2 separate regions of the Homo sapiens genome follow, and region 2 is linked to region 1. Evidence: promoter capture Hi-C in 16 types of primary human blood cells and fetal thymus (Javierre and others, 2016). All regions are on one chromosome and are shown on one strand. The core of a region is centred on a gene start or on the middle of the fragment in contact, and the rest is flanking DNA. Distances in the headings are between cores, read along the strand shown. Region 1 holds the start of ADARB2 (adenosine deaminase RNA specific B2 (inactive)). Region 2 overlaps ADARB2 (adenosine deaminase RNA specific B2 (inactive)).

What was found. Contacts are between HindIII fragments. The CHiCAGO score rates a contact against its expected background, and 5 or more counts as called.
Region 2: a contact is called between a fragment that was not itself captured here and the fragment with the promoter of ADARB2 in region 1, in 2 of 17 cell types (total B cells and naive B cells). The highest score is 6.2, in total B cells.

Annotation. Positions count from the first base shown.
Region 1 is chr10:1,734,899-1,740,385 of GRCh38, reverse strand. ADARB2 (adenosine deaminase RNA specific B2 (inactive)) reads left to right here and starts at 2,861. Exons shown (of 10, transcript NM_018702.4): 1 at 2,861-3,335. The coding sequence starts at 3,236. RefSeq lists a silencer at 2,912-2,971 and an enhancer at 2,933-3,529. The HindIII fragment of the contact is 1,175 bases long and covers 1,971-3,145 here.
Region 2 is chr10:1,418,690-1,424,176 of GRCh38, reverse strand. All of the region lies in intron 1 of ADARB2 (adenosine deaminase RNA specific B2 (inactive)), which reads left to right. Among named protein-coding and RNA genes, the nearest start is that of ADARB2-AS1, 110 kb to the left of the region's middle. The HindIII fragment of the contact is 6,008 bases long and covers 1-5,487 here.

The DNA.
Region 1 (5,487 bases), core at 1,612-4,111:
CAGACATTGAAGAAACAAGCAAAATATCACACAGGAGACCTGTAACATTGTAGGACTGATGAGAGCAACAGTGAGTTGGGGGAGCTTTAAGCAACTCCAACAAGAGGACCCTTTCTGGCCTTGATTGAGAAAACTCTTCCTCCTGGCACACACATGCCATTTGGGTGTGGGGACTCACTGCGGAGGCAGCACTGCCCCTTCTATCCAGCCAAGGGCTCCTTTCTATGCCTCACCCGTCTCCCCCCGACCCCTATAGGTTCATGCCGGGCTGCAGTTGGCTTTGTAGCTGCCTGTTCCTCCTTGCAACCTCTCTGCTGGTGCTTTGTTTTGTGGGAAGAGCAGGGACTGAGCATGAAGTAGCTGGGGACACCACAGCGACATCTCCTGATGGGCACCGGGCGAGATTGGCTCCTGCTCCTGAAGCCTCTTCCAACTGCTGCTCATCCCACCACGTTGCAAAGCTGCGCTGAGGCACTGTGGGAAACAGGCAGGAGGTGAGGAGGCTCATCGGGGAATGGCAGCTTACCAGCACTGCTCACTCGCAGCCCTGCTTGCAACAGCAGAGTGAGACGTGCTGGAAACCACGCTGGAGTTAACGCACTTGTCGCTGCGAGCCTCTTCTTTAAAGCCCCTCTGTGATGAGAAACAAAGGCTTTCTCGCCTAGCCGTCGCCCTAGCATCATCTATTATGCATCGTCTTATGCAAAATAAATAAAATACAGAAAACAGCAAGTATCTGTGAAAACAGCATTTTCATAAATTATACAAAAAAGAACCAATTGGAGGAACTTCAAGAAAAAGGTTTGCCAAAATTTCGATCGTAACTTTCAAATTAGGGTCTAAATGAAGTGTTCAAAGACAGTTTTCAGTTTTGTTTCCCCACTCCACCAACATCAGAAGAACATTTAACAGACACGTTACTTTCCGGCCACCATACCTGCCCTTGGAGTGAAACAAGGGTTCATGTATACGAGTCTCCCAGACAGCACGGTTGCTCCGTGTGATGATGGAGCTATTGGGGCCATTAATAAATGCTGACCACCTTGTGGGGGCTGTGTGTGTGTGTGAAGCTCTTCTGAAGCACCTTCCTTCGGTGACTCCACCCCCTGATGGGTTTTCTGCAGATACAGAAATAGGGCAACTCTGGATTAGTGCAGCACATTGTGTGAAGCTCAGAAGTTTCACAGGCAGAGTCCTAGAGCTGTGTTTCTCGATATAGTTTAAGCACTCAAATATCTCGGGTATTGCAGAGAGGAAGTGAGAGAGCTATGTGCCTTCTCAACCCTCGCTGGGAATTATCAGCAGAGCTGAGCTGTGCTGTCATGGGAACAGGGTTGTTGAAGCCAGCCCTGAAGAGGGATGTTGGTTTGATTGTGGTCCTCAGTCTGAGTTGGACTAGAAGGTTCAACATTCTAAAAGGAAAACGCAGAAGCCCTGTCTTTCTGAGGCTTGTCTGCAACATACGCTCATTCCTTCCAAATTATTTGCTGGAAAAAATTTAATAAATAATCATAGAGTAATTAACATGTTCCAGTTCCTGTCTATACTGGTTGATACTGATTCAACGAGTATGAATGAACTTATGAGGTGGGTGACGTTGTTATCCCCAGTTTACAGATGAGGAAACTGAGGCACGGTTTAACTTACCCGAGGTCATAGCAGTAGAGTTAAGATTTGAAATCAAATGTCTTACTCTCTCTCATCAATGAAAACTGAGCTACGATCTATCAGCTCAGCACATAACAACACAGGATCATCCTAATTATTTCCAATGTCCCCCAGAGTGATTCTTTTTTCTTATGATAAAAATTATCTGGAAATTTCTAGGCACATAAGCAGCTGAAAAGGTTGCATGTGAGGCAATGAATAGCAGAAATATTTGTGTGCCATTTTTATATCAACATGTTAATGTGTGCTAATGAATTTTAGAGTGGATTTTTTTAAAAACATGACTATTGTAATTAAAAGCTTATGTGATTTAAATACAAGATGCAATGATGATTACCAGATTCTATTCCTCTTTATATTTTACATAAGACTTCCAGGGTTCCATAAGTATAATCTTGAAACATAGGACATTCCTGGAAAAAAAAATTGCTTAAAACTATTTCAGTGTGCAATCCACCTCTTTGTAAATGTTACTTTCTTCCATCCAAATATTACATTTGGCAACAAAACTCTCCGCTGAGAGCTTTCTCTTCCTTTTGTGTCATTGTTCCCTAAATAAAGCAACACATGAAATTCCTGACGGCAAAAATCAGACTCAGATCCCAAAACCTCTGTCTTTATGCAAGATTTATCTTTTGCATTGGAAACGGCCAAGGAATATGAAGAGGGGAAAGAAGAGGCAAACAGACAAGCATGCAGGCTCTGAGGAATAAATGCCCCTCAGGACGCTGTCTCCTGGGGAATTGCAAACCTCAGTCCGTTTCTGAGGAAGTGCGGTCTCTGCATTTCTGAAAGAGGTATTTCCCCCCCTTGACACAAGGAGCATGGTAATGAATTGACTAGTTAAAAACTGTTGGTTGGAAAAACCCGTCCCTGTGTCTTTCTGAGCAGGGCGAGCTGAGCTGTCCGCGAGGCTGCGGCAGGAGGCCTCGTCCTCCCGGGCAGGGTCCCTCCTGGAGGCTCCCCCGGTCTCTCCCAGACGCACCCGCGCCGCGTCCTTGTTCCCCGGGAGCAGCCTCCCTCCAGCCGCCGGTCCTGGGAGCTTCACCGTCCAAACGGGAGCTGAGTTTGCAAGCGGCCAGGCGGCGGTGCGGCTGGTGCTGCTGCTGATGTCAGAGCCAGAAAGCAGTTGTGATTGGATCTAATTAGACGCTGCTGCAGCAAATAGACAAGCTCCCTGCGTGATTGGCTTCAAAGTGGCTGGTGCCAAACAACTAGCAGAGGCGCAAAAGTAGCCTCCCTGCGCTGGGAGCCCAGAGCAGGAGGCAGAGCCCGCGGGAAGCTCGGAGCACTCAGGACGCCGCGCGCCCTTCCCCGCCCTCCCTGACCAGGGAGCAGCTCGCTCCAGGCGCCCAGCCGAGGCCCCCAGCCCAGTGGGAGCAAGTCATAGAGAACAATTCGAGAGACAGAGAGACGGAGCGCGCTTTCCTGCTCAGTCCTGAAAAGTGAGCCGCTCCCGGGTTTGCAACCTCAAGCTTCGCAGCAGCGGCGGCGGCGGCTGCCGGGAAGGAGGCAGGTGCAGGTGCAGGAGGGAGGCGGCTCTGGGCTCCGCGCCTGGGTCTCGGCCATGGCCTCGGTCCTGGGGAGCGGCAGAGGGTCTGGAGGGCTGAGCAGTCAACTCAAATGCAAGTCCAAGAGGAGGAGGAGGCGGAGGTCCAAGCGGAAAGGTAAGGACCGCGTGGCGCGCCGGCCCCTGCCCCCCTTCACCCCCGGCTTCTCCACCCCGGCCTCTCATGGGGTCTCCGGGCTTGTCCGTTGTGAGCAGCTTCACTTTGGGGTGCTGGCGGGATGGCTGCTCCGTGCAGGGCGCTCGGGAGTTCAGATCCCGTGGAAATGTCTGGGGCCTCCTCTTGCCCAGAGGGGACAGTGAGCAGCCACGCTGCGACATGTTTGAGGGACCCGGACGAAGTGGGGCGAGGGCGGCGAGGAGCTCCCCGGGGACCCCGCGCGTCTCCGGGCCCCGCAGTCCCCAGTGGCCGGCCGGGCTGGCACTGCCTTCCACCCTCCGGAGGCCATCTCGTCTCCCAGTGCCAAAGGAATTACCCAAAAACGGGGGAACGAGCCCTCGCGCCAGCTACTCCCATCCAAACTGTCCCGGAGGAAGGGATAGGCGAAGCCCTGCGATCGCCTCTCCAAATTGGCTGGCAGTTTTTACTCAATGTGGTGCCCGTCGATTTGTAAACATTGGGTCGTAAAGAGAACACAGGGCTCGTCCTTGGAGAAATAAGCAGAAATGAATACAGGAAAACAGAAAGAAGCATCATATTTTGTTAGTGGTAGAAAAAAACCGCAAACCAGGAAAGCAGGAAAAGCAGCCGGCTGACAGCGGCCACTGACAAACTCAGCTGTGCCTTGTTACTGATATTCCTGGGGCTGGGCCGCGCTGAAGTTAGTCAATGCTACAGCAAGGGAGGGCTTTCACACTGGGGATTTTGCAAAATTAGCAATCGCTCCAATATGAGAGCAATGCCCCCAGTGCCATCGTAGCCTGTGTGCATGCCAGGAAGAATTAAAAGATTCTTCTCATGCCGACCCTTCTCTCCTAGAGGAACCTGTGTTATTGTCAGTTCCTAGTGAGCCTGCAGGAGAAAGTTCAGTTCTAATCATGATTTGAAATGTGCTGATTTTTTTTAAGTGAGGTAGAAGTATAAAGAACGGTTGGAAAAACACAGCTAGAATTGATCAGCTTTGCCAGTTGTTTGAAAGCAGGAGGCAACGTTAGGTGTGTTTGGGGTTGTCCATCTTTCCTGAAGAATTTTCATCTTTGCATTGGCCTAAGATAAGTTTCTACCAGACCGTTTCCTGTGTGCCCTCGAACCGTCACCAGGTCCTTTATTGCCTCTTCCAATAATAGAAATTATCCAGACAGTCAGCAGGCATAAATGTCAATAGCAAACAGTCATTCATTATGACCGAACGTCAGGACCACTGGGAGGGATTGGCCCCCACAACTTCCTCAAAAGGTTTTGGAGCCTTTGGTTTCAGAAGGGAGGTGATGTTGTGGTTCTCATTTACCTCTCAGCTGCTAAGTGTGCGCTTGCGATTCACTTTGTTGTTTGAAATTATCATTTTGAAACAGACCTGTTAGTGTCCTCCAAAGATAATGCCAACACAAAGTGGCATTGATATTGAGAAAGTCACCGGATTGAATAATGAATATGACTTTTAAAAGAGGAAAAAGGAAGCATCATCTTTACACTTGAAATGTTCACATTTCCCAATATTTTTTGATTAGTCTATTTAAATATTTAGAGTTGAAGAATGTGGAGTAATAGTTCGCAATAATGCATTTTATAAATATAAACAGGAGGAAAGTGTTGCCTTTCTCCAAATTCACTTGCCTTGCCAGGAAGCGTCAGTCATGCTAGCTTAGAAAGTATTCAATTTAGGGGGAAAAAGGAAATCTGGGGAAAGACTTCATTTGCTATAAACTTAACTTTAGCAATTCAAAATAAAACTCCTATAGCAAATATTTCCATACCTTGGTTATTTTGAATATGTCAAGTCCCTTAATTTTCATAGCCAAAAATTGAAGCGGGAAAGGGCATTCAGGTTTTGTACACTGATTTCTGTTACGAAGAGATTTCTGGCGTGCGGGAGAATTTCCCAGGGCACCTGCCGGCAGCTATCTTGATAGGAAAGTCAAATCAAACGGCTAAAGATTCAATTTTTGGGGAAACGTTAACCATGTAGATGTAACTGATCAAATTAAAAGGTAAAGTAACCAGCTAAGAGACACATTAAATAATTATTTGCATTTTCCTGGGAATTGATTACTTCATCTATGATACCTAGTTATTACAGATGCTGATATTTTTT
Region 2 (5,487 bases), core at 1,328-3,827, 320 kb after region 1:
CATAGTGGACCTACTGCATACATAGTGGTCCCACTGTATACGTAGTAGACCCACTGCATATGTGTTGGACCTTCTGCATACACAGTGGACCTACTGCATACATAGTGGTCCCACTGCATACATAGTAGACCTACTGCATATGTGTTGGACCTACTGCATACATAGTAGACCTACTGCATACATAATGGTCATACTGCATACATAGTGGTCCTACTGCATACATAGTGGATCTACTGCATACATGGTGGACCTACTGCATACACAGTGATCTTACTGCATACATAGTGGACCTACTGCATACATAGTGGTCTTACTGCATACATAGTGGTCCTGCTGCATACGTAGTGGATTTACTGTATACATAGTGATCTTACTGCATGCATAGTGGACCTACTGCATACACAGTGGTCTTACTGCATACATAGTGGACCTACTGCATACACAGTGATCTTACTGCATACATAGTGGACCTACTGCATACACAGTGGTCTTACTGCATACATAGTGGACCTACTGCATACACAGTGATCTTACTGCATACATAGTGGACCTACTGCATACACAGTGATCTTACTGCATACATAGTGGACCTACTGCATACACAGTGGCATGGAACTCACTAGGCCCTAGGAAGGTAGCAAAGACAACTAGGCCTAGGAAGAGTAGTCCCTGCCTCCCCTAGAACCTTTGAGTCCCCCTAGCACCATGAACACGCAGCAGCCACACTGCCAGGACCAAGCAGTGCTGGGCAAGGTGGCTGCAGGCTCAAGGCCGGGTGCTCAGGAGCCAGGAGGCCGGAGGGGTTTCTAGGAGGCTTGCAGAATCCCTCAGTGAGAACAGGGGAGTTGAGCTGAGTTTTAAGGAATAAACAGGACTCAGATTAGAGGGGAAAAGAAGGACAGTGATTTCAGGAAGGGAGGGGGCCAAGGGTGTAAGCAATGGCGTGAAGCTGGGACAAGGGCCCGGGCCAGGACTCCAGCTTAGCGAGGGCTGGGAAGGCGGTGGCAAAGGTGGGAGCTGAGCTGGAACCCAATGGCCATGGCCACCTGTGGAGACTCGGGGACTCGGAGCAGAGAGACTGCTGGCCAAGGGTCCCCTTCAGTGATGTAAGCTCCAGGAGAAATGCACAAGGCAAATACCTCTCTGAGTCTCCATAAAATGGGAACACAGGCTCACAGAACATCTAGCTGCAGGGCTCTCGGCCATAAGAACCAGACAGGTGGGTGCCACTGCTCCCAGGATCCAAGCCATTGTTTCTAGGGAGACTCGGTGGGCTCCATCTGCAAAATGGAGTGGAGAGTGATGGGGTAGACCCCAGGCGGAGTTTGCGTGTGGCCATAGGAGGTACGCTAATGCCCTTCATACCTGGGTGCCGCAGGCCGAAAGCCCAGTGGATCCTTACAGTCTGCACAGTGTATACAGCCTATGCTTGGTGACACATTGACAGATGGGTGGTCATTGTTACAGCAATTTATCAGAATTCACTGGTCAGCCTTACCCAAATAACTGAGGCACTGTGTCAATTTTGCACAGATGTGTAGGTATCCATGGTTTCCAGAGTAGATGGCTCCCAGGTAAGGGACATGTGACCTGCAGGCTGGGGTCACCAAGGCCATTGTGACCTACGGGCTCCTCTCCCTGCCCCAAGACCAGTGCCGTCAGCTCAGCCACAGGGCACTGCCTCTCACTGTGCCTTCCCCTCTGGTGGAGTGTCCAGGTGGGTTGAGGTCCACCTGTGCCCTCACCTGCAGCCCCGGTCTCCAAAGCGTGAGCCGCTGGTCTGGCCTGAAAGTGTTGACAGTGCCTCCCTCTCACTCCCGAGTCCTTATTCCACCCTCGGACAGCTGTCTCTGTAAATAAATTTACCGAATCAGAGCACTGAAAACTCCTGACCTTATATTAAGTCTTCCAGGATTTATCAGAAAAGCATAAAGCTGTGAAATATCCTATGTGGCCTCATGGATTCCATATATTTTGAATCTTTCCTTTGATGTACCTTGACGTCCCCGTTCTATTCCTCTTGCCAACCTTGGCTTAAAAACTCGTGGAAGTTAAGAGCCAAGTCTGTTGCCAGGGATATGTCCATGGCTTTGATGGGGGATGTTGCCCATTGTTGGGCCTTTTGGTGGGGGCTTCCCTAACTCACAGCAGCTTTCAGATGCAGGCACCTCAAGCCTGCCACTCTGCCACTAGAGTAGGTACCTGGGGCTGCTTCTCCTCTGTATTCTCTTCAAATAACCTGAGATGGAAATAGCACATGCAATGGGTACATAGCTCTTCCTCAGCAGACCCATCAAGGAACAAATACAATCATCCAAAATGTGCTTCCTTCTCCCTGTTTCAGTCTAGGAGCTCTCCGAGTGTTCTAACTGGATTTAGATTAGACCACCTCCCTGTCAACATGTTCCCTGCCCTGGGGTTCACTTTAGGAGGCAATGGGGTGAATCTTACAATGGAAAGGACAAAACAAACAGTCAACACTAACAGCGTGGACTCTCCTGACTTCCACAACAGCAGCCCCATCTGAGCATCGTGAGTCTTAACTCTCAGCATGTGCATTTTATAAAGGCAGGATTTTTGTCCACTTTGTTCACTGCTATAGTCCCAGGGCCCAGGATAGTGTCTGGCCCACAGTAGGTATGAATAAACATTTATTCAATGTGAATAAGACTCTGTAATGAAAGAGAATCTAGAGAAGAATAAGTTCAAATTGCTCCCTGACCCCCAACCTCCCACTGCTTTTAGGAGTAAGCCCATTGTTACCCAAAAAGATTTAGTGACTTCTGTGAAATCGCAAGAAGCCAGCCTGGAACCTGACCCTGAGACACTGAGACCCTTTAATCTCCTCACAGCTGAGCGTGGGTGGGGTTAGGTCCTGCAGATCCTGACCAGCCACCTGTCCCACAAACCAAGCAGCAGACAAACACTATGGAACCGACGGGCAGGTGCACAGGCTGTGCTTTGACTGTAACGCTCCAGTGCAGAGGGCCCCTTTGGTCCGGGTTAATCAAGGCAGGTCTGAAGGAGCCCCCGCCCTCCTCCAGCCGGTGCCCCCACCATCCTGGGGACCTGACTCACATCAGTGCTCTGATCAGAGGTGAAGGGCGGGAGAGCTTCGAGCTCCCCCTGGAGGCGAGTGTTGCACAAACACACTAGATGGAGAGCAGTGGAGGTGTAACACCACCCTGTGAGAGCAGAGAGAGGAAGGAGAACCGAGCGGCGCAGGGCAGGCAGGAACATTTCGCTTTCATTGGGAAGTGTCCGTCTTCTCTACTTGCCGGTTTGCTCCGGGGTGTGTGCAATGCAAGCTCCTTTGGAAGCATGCCTTACAAGACATAGCACTGCTTCTTTCAGGACGGGGCTCTAATTTGTGGCTAGCCCTGGGCGGGCGTTAATCAATGTGGTCCTCGAGAATTACATCTTCTCCTGCTTCTGTGCCCTGGGTGCAGAGCCTGTGTTCTCAGCGGCAGGCAGCGGCTCCCTCTCTGTCAGCGCTGTGCTCACTCGCTCTCTGTTTCTCAGCCGAGCTATTTCCTTTCCTCTGCCTTTTTTTTTTTTTTTTTTCCCTCTTTCTGGAAGATGAGGACCTGCCATCATTTATCAAGGATTTGATTCTTCATCATGAAAAACCATGGTCCTGAGTCCAGCTTCTATTTGGTAGATAGAGACAGATCAGCTTCAACTCTAAATTTTATAAACCTCTTATAATAAAATCCCTCGGATGTGAATGTGCTGTCTCAATAATTAGATGAATACAGCCAACCACTGGTTACCAGCATGATGAAGGATCTGATCATATTATTTTCCGTGGCTGCGCTGGCCTGACAATCCCCCACCACATATCTGTCTGTGCTACTCTTTGTCAGCCTTACACGTAGCTGTCCATGTAAAAATACTTACAAAGTAACTGCTCAAACATGAAAATCACAAGGCAAGAGCTCATTAAACAAAGAAACGGCATGAGCTGTGCTGTGTAGTAGATTAGAACTTTAAATATTTCCTGCTAGCAGGTAAGTTATGAGGCCTTTAAATATGTATTATTATTCACATTTAATCATGCACCGAATGTTCCTGCTTAATTGCTAAATGTTTTCTCTTGTGCTTAAATTTCATGCCACAGATTATTAAAAATTGACTTTACAATATTTATTTTACTTATCTTCTCAAGCCAGACTGGGCATAGCTGATAGATTTGGTAAATTATTAATTTTTAAAGGCAATTTGTGCTACATTTTACACTCGGATGATGTCCAGAGAGACTCTGATTTCTAGTCCAAAACTTACAGAACTGAATCACTTTGATTCATCTTTTATCTAAAGACTCTTAAAACACATATGCAGAGATGTGAGAGCTAACGAATCCCTCCGATGTGATGTGAAAAGCTAACAAGCGCTTAGTTAACATTTAGATTCATGTGATGAAGGAGGAAAACTATCATTTCCAGTAGGTTATCTGAGCAATAACCTTGGACGATATAATTCATTCTGTTATATAACAAGAACTGCTTAGAGACATCATGAGACTTTAATAAAACCCACAAACATCTCTATATCAGGCTTAATTTACTGCAGCACCAACCATCTGGGCTTACCGTCCCTCTGGGTACCGGTTCCGCCCAGTGAGGCTGTGCCCTCCATAAAGTGGCCCGTGGTTTTGCTATAACTCGGTTTACATAGGGGAGCATATGCATGAGCCAAGATAAACTTCTCATATGGATTCTGCTGGATTTTTTTAAAGTGTTTGATAGTAAGTTTCCACTGTCCATACATTAAATTCTAAGCTAAAATTATATATTAAATTGGGAGTAGATTCTTAGACACCAAAAAGATAAAATGATCAATAAAATGAGGTCAGGAGTTCGAGACCAGCCTGATCAACATGGTGAAACCCCATCTCTACTAAAAAAATACAAAAATTAGACGGGCGTGGTGGCGGGTGCCTGTAATCCCAGCTACTTGGGAGGCTGAGGCAGGAGAATCACTTGAACCTGGGAGGTGGAGGTTGCAGTGAGCCAAGATCATGCCATTGTGCTCCAGCCTGGGCAACAAGAACAAAACTCTGTCTCAAAAAGAAAAAAAAGACACATCACTGTACATTTTTGTGTATATTTAGGCTCCTGCTTTAGTTTCATTTTTCTGAAAACCAGTGTTGTCTAAACATCCCTTTTCTTAGCCACACTATGCAACCAAGATCCAGGGTTCCAAGTGAACCCTTTTCTTTCCTCGACCATGCAGCCTACATACCAAAGGGGCGCAGGACACACTTGGCTGGTTTCCGACAGCACGCACAAAACAGAAAAGGGAAATTTTCCAAGACAACTGACAAAAATCAAGACATAGATTTTTTTTTTTCTCAGTTATCCTGCAGAAACTTTGAAAGGCTTGATGTATTTGCTGAACTTTGGAATGCTCACTGAGTTTAAAATCACTATTGTATCAGTGTTGCTCGGCCCAAAACTAGCTAGGGCACTGAGGAGGAAATAGTCT